Regions from separate parts of the Homo sapiens genome. Here region 1 is linked to region 2. The links are contacts of gene promoters, found by promoter capture Hi-C in blood cells and fetal thymus (Javierre and others, 2016). All regions are on one chromosome and are shown on one strand. Each heading gives the region's core, a stretch centred on a gene start or on the middle of the fragment in contact. The rest is flanking DNA. Distances are from core to core; before and after follow the strand shown. Region 1 overlaps TMEM164 (transmembrane protein 164). Region 2 holds the start of KCNE5 (potassium voltage-gated channel subfamily E regulatory subunit 5).

What was found. Contacts are between HindIII fragments. The CHiCAGO score rates a contact against its expected background, and 5 or more counts as called.
Region 1: a fragment that was not itself captured here is called in contact with the fragment with the promoter of KCNE5 in region 2 in 1 of 17 cell types (neutrophils); the score reaches 5.4 in neutrophils.

What each region holds. Positions count from the first base shown.
Region 1 is chrX:110,035,241-110,039,487 of GRCh38, forward strand. The region is part of intron 2 of TMEM164 (transmembrane protein 164); the gene reads left to right. Among named protein-coding and RNA genes, the nearest start is that of MIR652, 18 kb to the right of the region's middle. The HindIII fragment of the contact is 5,858 bases long and covers 1-4,247 here.
Region 2 is chrX:109,623,328-109,627,125 of GRCh38, forward strand. It overlaps KCNE5 (potassium voltage-gated channel subfamily E regulatory subunit 5), which reads right to left and starts at 1,845. Exons shown (of 1, transcript NM_012282.4): 1 at 373-1,845. The coding sequence starts at 1,693. The coding sequence ends at 1,265. The HindIII fragment of the contact is 6,764 bases long and covers 1-3,798 here.

The DNA of each region.
Region 1 (4,247 bases), core at 301-2,800, 410 kb after region 2:
AAAAGAAATGAAAAAAATAAATAAAAATCACTCATAGTCTTGCCACAAAAATGTTAACATTTTTGCTTATTCTCCTTCTTCTCTTCACATTATTTTACATGCTTGTGTCTATACTGTATATTGCCAATTTTATACCTGATTTTTTTCACTAAGCATCCTCATAAACGTTTCCTGTGTTATTTAAAACTTGTTGGCATAACTCTTAATGCCTATGTGGTACTCCATCCTGTATGTAACTGGATCATAATTTACCTAGCCATTTCCTTTTTTTTTTTTTAGGGGGGATGGATTCTTGCTCTGTCACCCAGGCTGGAGTGCAGTGGCACGATCTCAGCTCACTGCAACCTCTGCTTCCCAGGTTCAAGCAATTCTTGTGCCTCAGCCTCCCAAGTAGCTGGGACTACAGGCTACCATCACCGCGGCCAGCTAATTTTTGTATTTTTTAGTAGAGATGGGGTTTTACCATGTTGTCCAGGCTGGTCTCGAACTCCTGATCTCAAGTGATCCGCCCACTTCGGCCTCCCAATGTGCTCCTATTTTTTTTTTTTTGCAGTTATAAACTTTAAAAAGTTTACTCTTGTACAAATCTTTGTGTTTCACATTATTTTGTAGGTCACTTTCCTTGAAGTGGAGTTACCAGGACAGGGGTATGGATGTTTTTAAGGAGCTTAATATCTCTTTTTTTGTTGTTTTTTTTTAAAAAAGGTAGTGCTTATGTACATTCCTACTAGCAGTGGGGACAGAGAGAGCCTCTTCCAACTCATCCTCACCAACATCAGATATTGTCACTAAAGCAAAATCTTTTTTTTAAAGCAAATTTTAAAAAAATGGCATCTAAGTTAATGTGTAATTCTTTGTTAAGGTGATTGGAGAAAAAGTTTCAAATGATTGTTGAATGATGAATGGGATCACATAGTTCTTCTTTGGCTCAGTTTTTCATAAATGTACCTTGGGCCCTAACTTGCTTCTCCTTTTCCTCATGCAGTTACCCCCTTTCATCTTTCTGGCTCCTTCTGTTAAAATTCTACTTATTCTTTAGGGCTCAATCCTATCTGTATTCATGTACCTGTCTGTGGAGTCCTCCCTAGTTCCTCCTACTCGATATGATCTCTTGCCTTTGAATCCCTGTAGCACTGTGTACCTCTCTTGTGGTATTTATGTCTTTCTGCCCCTTTTTTTGGTTATCTCTGTACTGGCTTTATGCCTATGGCATGGACACTGGGTAATGTTATCTTTGCATTGACTCCCAGAGCCTAGTAGAGAGCTTAGTGTACAATGGGCTGATTAGCCTATCAGAGCTATGTTGAAAGGTGCCTAAGGTCTGCTGCAGATGACCTTTCAAAATATTCGATGTTGCAATTACCTGTGATGTTTACAGAACGGATTGGGATCACTGATAAGAGATGCTTTGCTGGTTACTTAAGATGGGCTGTATCTATAAGTCCTAGTCACTCTTTTTTGTGAAATTTGAATCATCAAATTTTCCAAGTAGTGATAAAAAACAATTTTAGCATATGTTAGGCTATTCTCTTGTGTATCTGGTAGAAGTTTATGTGATGATGGAAATGTTTTATATCTGCACTGTCTGATATGGTAGTCAGTGGCCACATGTGGCTATTGTGCACTGTATATGTGGTTACTGCAAATGAGGAACTGATTTTTTTTTTCATTTTACTAATTTTAAATACTTTAAATAGCCACATGTAGCTAGTGGTAACCATATGGGACAGTGCAGGATAATGTAGAATATTTAAAGTTATGGTCTCTTTTTTATGGCCAAAAGAAGCTGGGTATGTATAGTGACCCACAGTAACATTGACATTGTAGTTTTCTGGAATTTTGGAGAGGCAGTCTAGACCCTGGTAGAGCCGTAGAGAGAGAGAGAGAGAGGGGAAGCCATAAGTTTGGTTCAAAATGGAAACTGATTCCAGCGGGAGGTGTATGTTGTGAGAAAAGGGAGATGATGCCAGATTGGTAGGATAAAGGCAGAGTACAATAAGCTGGAATACCTAGAGGAGACATATGGACATGATACGATTGGTGATAGGGAACCATTAAAGATTCATGAAAAGAGGAGTGATAGATGAGTGTGGTGTTGCAAGGTCACCTTTGCCAGGCGTATGAAGCTGCTGGGAAAGGATGTGAGTTATTGGCCCCTCCTTCAGTGGATAGGGTTGGGCAGTAGTGATTCACAAACTCCATCAAAACCCAGCCACATCAGAAAACACAAATGATTTATTTTTGCATTAGCTTCCAGTTATTGTGTGCCTTCCTGTGGTTCAGATATACACCACCATATATTGTGGAGGGCTTGTAGCTGGGGGGCTGTGGAGAATGGCCGCCTATGTGACAGGAGGCAGGCCAGTCACCTCTGCTTAGCCACAGGCAAAATTGCCATCTGTGACCCTGGTACCTTGAAAGGTGTGTCTTGAATGGCTCTTTGACTCTTCAGAAACAATCTGGGAGCCCATTCATTCTGTTCTCACTTGCCTGCTTCCTTTAAGGGCCGATAGCAAATTTCTAATTTTACTGTTAGGAGAATATTTTCAATCTCATTTTTTAACCTTTAAATTAAGTTGAACCTTTCAATTAAGTTGAATTAATATTTCTTCCCACTACCTACTCCTTACTGCCCTCACTCCGTCCTTTATTAGATTGCTTATATTTCCATAACTGCATCGTGACCTTAGCACATGGACTTAATCATTAACTATCGTATTCCTAAAGAACAGCCTTTGGACTCATTTTTTTTTTTTTTTTTTTTTTTTGAGACGGAGTCTCGCTCTGTCGCCCAGGCTGGAGTGCAGTGGCAGGATCTCGGCTCACTGCAAGCTCCGCCTCCCGGGTTCACGCCATTCTCCTGCCTCAGCCTCCCAAGTAGCTGGGACTACAGGCGCCCGCCACTACGCCCGGCTAATTTTTTGTATTTTTAGTAGAGAACGGGGTTTCACCGTTTTAGCCGGGATGGTCTCGATCTCCTGACCTCGTGATCCGCCCGCCTCGGCCTCCCAAAGTGCTGGGATTACAGGCGTGAGCCACCGCGCCCGGCCTGGACTCATTTTTAAGAAAAAGAAAAACACTATTAAAGGGATTCTCTCTCTTCTCACACTCTCCCACATGCCCAGCTAACCCAGCCACCCTCATTCTCTACCCTACCTGTACTCCCACCCTCCATGCCCACTTTGGCTCAGGGAGATGGTCCAGCTGAGGAACAGCCTCCCTTTTGGGAAAACATGCTCCATTTAAATCATACGTAGTAAGTCTTCAGAAACCCTGACCCTGGAGGGGCTTTGGGACACAACTGACAATTAAATCTCCTGGTGTCAGGAGATCTTGCAACTGAGAACTGAGTGCCCCTTCCACCTCACTCATAATTGACAGGGGCCAGTGCCTTGTGTGGGCCTCACCTCACCTGGCATCACCACTCCTCACCCAACCTTACCTCACCTTACCCCACCTTACCCCACCATACCTCACCTCACCTTCTCTCCTGCTCTTGAGAGACAACTAGGTAACTGTGAGTAGCACTTCTCCCTTGGCATAGTGAAGCAGCTTCCTCACTGATGCTCAATTCAAGGAAAGAGAAAAGTTCTTGTCTTGAGTTACCATGGGGCGGGGGGGAAGGGGAATTTTTTTTAAAAAACTACTTTGAGCTTCACACTTAAGATTTTTACAAAAATCAATTATATTTGGTTTCTCTTTTGATCATGAAGGTGGTATAGTTTAAGGGTTGAGGCATGGATACTACTGGAATCAGACACTAGTGGACTAGAATTTTGGTTCTATCACTTGCTAGCTGTTTGAACTTGGGGAAGTTTCTTAATTTCTTTGAACCTCAGTTTACTTGTCTGTAAAATGGGGATAATAATGCTTGCCTTGCATGGTTGTTGTAAAGATTAGAGAGTGTCTGTACAGCATGATTCCTGGGACCCAGTAAGGACTCAATAAAAGGTAGTTGTTATTATTAAAGCAGGTCATTTATGTTTGTAACAACCACAGGGTTAAGCTCATTGTCCCAATATCCTTTTATCTCATCCCTCAGCATGCTTGCTTTTGCCTTCCTGAAGCTGAAGATATTTATCCTCAGGGCAAGAGACATTGGGTGTGAGGGATTTAAGGAGACAGATTTTCTTGACAGAGGGATTCTTAGGTCAAGATGAGTAAGGAAAACTCGAGAGCTGGATGAGTAAGGAAAACTCGAGAGCGGCCTTTGCCAAGGAAATCTAAAGCAATTGCCACCCTGTTGG
Region 2 (3,798 bases), core at 595-3,094:
TTATTAAGGTGGCTTCTAAAAATTAGGTTTGATAATAGCTAAAAGGGATGGGCCTTAAAGGTTTTTTAAAGTGCATCCTGAAAGACTGCATTGTGATCTTTGAAAGTGCTTCAGAAATAAGAAAAAAGGAGGGATAAGTAATAAAGTAGGTATAACTTTTGAAACACTTGAAAAAACAACCCATTTAGCCATATAAACATTTTCTTCACCCATAATCACACATATCAAATTGGAACTGGTTACATAGATATAAATATCACAACCACCCAACCCCCAAATCCAAACATCATTTCCAAAAGCAAAAGAAAAAGGATTCCTTCTCCATATGGTACTGGGTCTTAAGGCTGGAATCTCTGAGAGAAGAGTCTTGCGTTATTGTTTAAACAACCTTTATTACCTGCCTCTGACATTCCCCAGGGTTACAGAGCAGGGGGCATCTGAGCCTCAAGTTCCACGGATGAAGCAGACACTGCAATAACAACTGAATCAATAGAGGAGAGGCATTTGGAAGTACTGGGGTGATACACCCAGTAATGGTAATCCTCAGCAGAAGATGGCATAGCTACCAAAAATCAGGCGTTACCACTGGGATGAAAACTGGGGAGGCAAGAAAATCATACGGTTGGAGTCATAGATCATTTCCCTCCCCGTTGAGCACTCCTCCCCCTTCCGTCCCCCATTAAGTTCATTCTATCCCACAGACTGGTCCTAGTGTCCTGCTAGCTCCCTGCTGAAAGAGAGAGGGAGGGAAAAGATGTCTGAGGTCTCTTCATTTCCTTTGTCTCTGTCCCTAAGGCAACTGGAAGCTGGAGCTGCTGCAGTCGGCCTGGCAAGCCCGTTGGCTCTGCAGAGTGAGCAGTCCCTGGCAGCCCCTGGAGCAGCTGCCAGTTAGACGGCCCAGAGTTCTGATAGAATGCATTGCTTCAGTTCAGTGCCAAGTGTTGGACGTGTTGGATTCAGTTCCCAGAGGGCTGGAGCGTGCTGTCAGGGCTGTCTGAAGACAAGAGAGCAGAGGCAGTTTAGTGCAGTTGGATGTGCGGGGTAGGGGTGGAGGCGCAGGGGTGAAGAGGGAGAAACTGGCCCGAATGGGTAAGGTGGTGCTTCTCCTTCCAGGGCCTTCCAGACAAGGTCTCCTGGCCTCTCACCATTATCTGGGCCTCAGATGAGGCGAACCCTGGAAGGGAGTTGGGGGTGGAAGGTGGGAGGCGCGCCCAGGGATGAGCGAGATGAGGAGGGCGCGAACCAGCAATCTGGGGCTGTGGTTTTAGACCCGCTCAGCGCCCTGGGCGAGGGCAGGCAGCCCCTCGGAGGCAAGCTGGCGGCGGCCCTCGGCCTGGGAGCCCGCGGCAGCCTCGGCGTCGGCGGTCAGGGCGCCTCCCGGGGCCCATTCGTGCTCGGCGCAAGCCTGGGACGGCTCGTCCTTGGCCTCGACGAGCTTACGGGAGCGGGTGTAGGCCAGGATGAGGCCTCCGGCCAAGCAGGCGTAGAAGATCATGATGAGCAGGATGTAGAGATAGGCGTCGTCGCCCTTGGCGCTGGTCACCTCGCGGCCCACGAAAGGGTCAGGCACGACCCCCATGCCCATGCTGGGACGAGGGCCAGCGCCCAAGCCGCTGGCATTACCCCGGTGGTGCAGCTCGAGCAACAGGCGGCTCAGAAGGGTTCGCAGCCGCTGGCTCTCGCTGCAGTTCATGGCTTTCGGGGAGTGACACGGCGGCTCCAGGACGCTGCTGACCTTTCCCCCTGGGCGAGGGGAAGCGAGCTAGCGAGCGGGCCGGCCGGCGGGCAGGGCTCAGCAGCGGAAACAGCGGTAGCACCCAGCTCTCCGGCGAGCGCGCAGTGGCTGGGGGCGCCGACGGCGGGGCCTCCTTATTCCCTCACTCCCGCCCCTCCTCCCCTTCCCCACCACGCCCCCTCCGGCCCGCGGCCGCCTCTTCCCAGGCTCTGGCTGTCTCGCTGCTCCAGGGAAAGGGGACAGCTGGTGGGGGGAGGAGAAGGGGACAAGAGTGGGGGCGAGGCTGGGAGACGGGCGGAGGGGGCGGGGGCTCGGAATGCGCGAGGCCCCAGGCAGCAGACGCTGGCAGGGCAGCTTGCTGGGGCCAAGCCTGGACCCTGGGCTGCGGAAGAGAATTCCTTCCAAGTTCTGGCCACCTGCCCTGCAGGCCAGGCTTTGGCCCAGATACAGCATTTGGCCCCCTAAGGCAGCTCTGCCTTGGGGCGCTCAAGGGAGAGGGCAGACGCCTTTCCGCAGCAGAGACCCCTTGTCCACATTTTATGGAAGTTACTCCCATATACAGGGACCCAGGCCTATCTTTCTAGTCCTCATTCCTTTCCTTTTCCCCCCGCCCCCCTTTTCACCCCCCTCCCACCTTGTCGGAGGAGAGCATCTTATTCAGAAGATGCTCAGGCTGAATTTGGTGACTGAGTGCTCAGGCACCTGCTAGAAGGCCAAGGCAGAGTAGAACTCCCTGGTTATCCAAAATGGTTTCTGGTGATATAAGTGATATTACACCTTCTTGGAAGCACCCCTGCTCTGATGTCCTATGACACTTTTTGAAAAGTCAACACATCTTAGCACATGAATGTACTATTCATAATGGGAGCCTGTTTCCCATGGGTAAGTAAGCCATCTTCCCAGAAGTGAAACCAAGTTCTTCCAATAAGAGTAGCATGCACATTTTAAAAGGCCCTTTGACTACACTCTGTGGATATCTCGGGATCTGAAAAGTGCCAGTTCTAGAGAATATGCTCACCCTACTCCCAGTTAGGCCAGCAAACAGCTGTGTGCCTCTCTAGACTTGGTAACAGGTCTAGGCCCTAATGGCTTTTAGGGCAGCCATTTTTTTCTCAAAGGCTGTCTTTTTTTAGGGGAAAACAAGGCACCAAGACAAAGATCAGGCCAGATATGTTAAATTGGAAACAGACTGAGCTTCACAAAGGAAAAGGGTTGGTTTGTAGATGGTGGGGTAGAAAAAATGAGGTAGTGCTGGCTAGGTCTGGTTGTCCATAGTTGCCAAATGAGAGCAGAAAGCAAGAAAAGTGTATGACCTTAGGCACACCTTGAAAATAATGCTGCCTGTTCAAGACCGTTCAGTCCAGGGACCATTCAATCTATAGGTGCCATGGGTTAAAAAAGGAAGGTTTTCCGATGCCTCTTCCCCAACCGTTCTTCAGCCCACCATCCACCCAGGGGCTGTAGCCTTCTGTGTGTTCAGGTGAGGTTGGCACCAAACTGTATCCAGGGTCTCAAACAGAGCCTTGCTTCACAGCCTCTAAACAGGCCTCAGAGACATTCCACATGACCCTGACACTGGCTCCCTTCTAATCACCTTGCCTCAATATTCTCACCTCAGAGGGCCTCAGGAAAGAATTGTTAAAGCAACTTGGCAGGATGAATGCCAGAGGACACAGCCAGAGAATTTTCAAAGCACTGCTAACCTAGTGATATGACTGTTGAGCTAAAAAGACTTCTCTTATCTGTTAAAACAGGAGTCCCCAACCTCCCAGGCTGCTGGACCTTGGCCTGTTAGGAACCAGCCGCACAGAAAGAGGTGAGCAGAGGGCAAGTGAGCATTATCGCCTGAGCTACACCTCCTGTCAGATCAGCAGTGGCATTAGAGTCTCAGAAGAGCTCAAACCGTATTGTGAACTGCGCATGCCATGGATCTACAATTGCATGCTCTTTATGAGAATCTAATGCCTGATGATCTGAAGTGAAACAGTTTCATCCTGAAACTATCCACCCCTCCCCAGTGTCCATGAAAAAAATTGTCTTCCACAAAACCAGTCTCTGGTGCC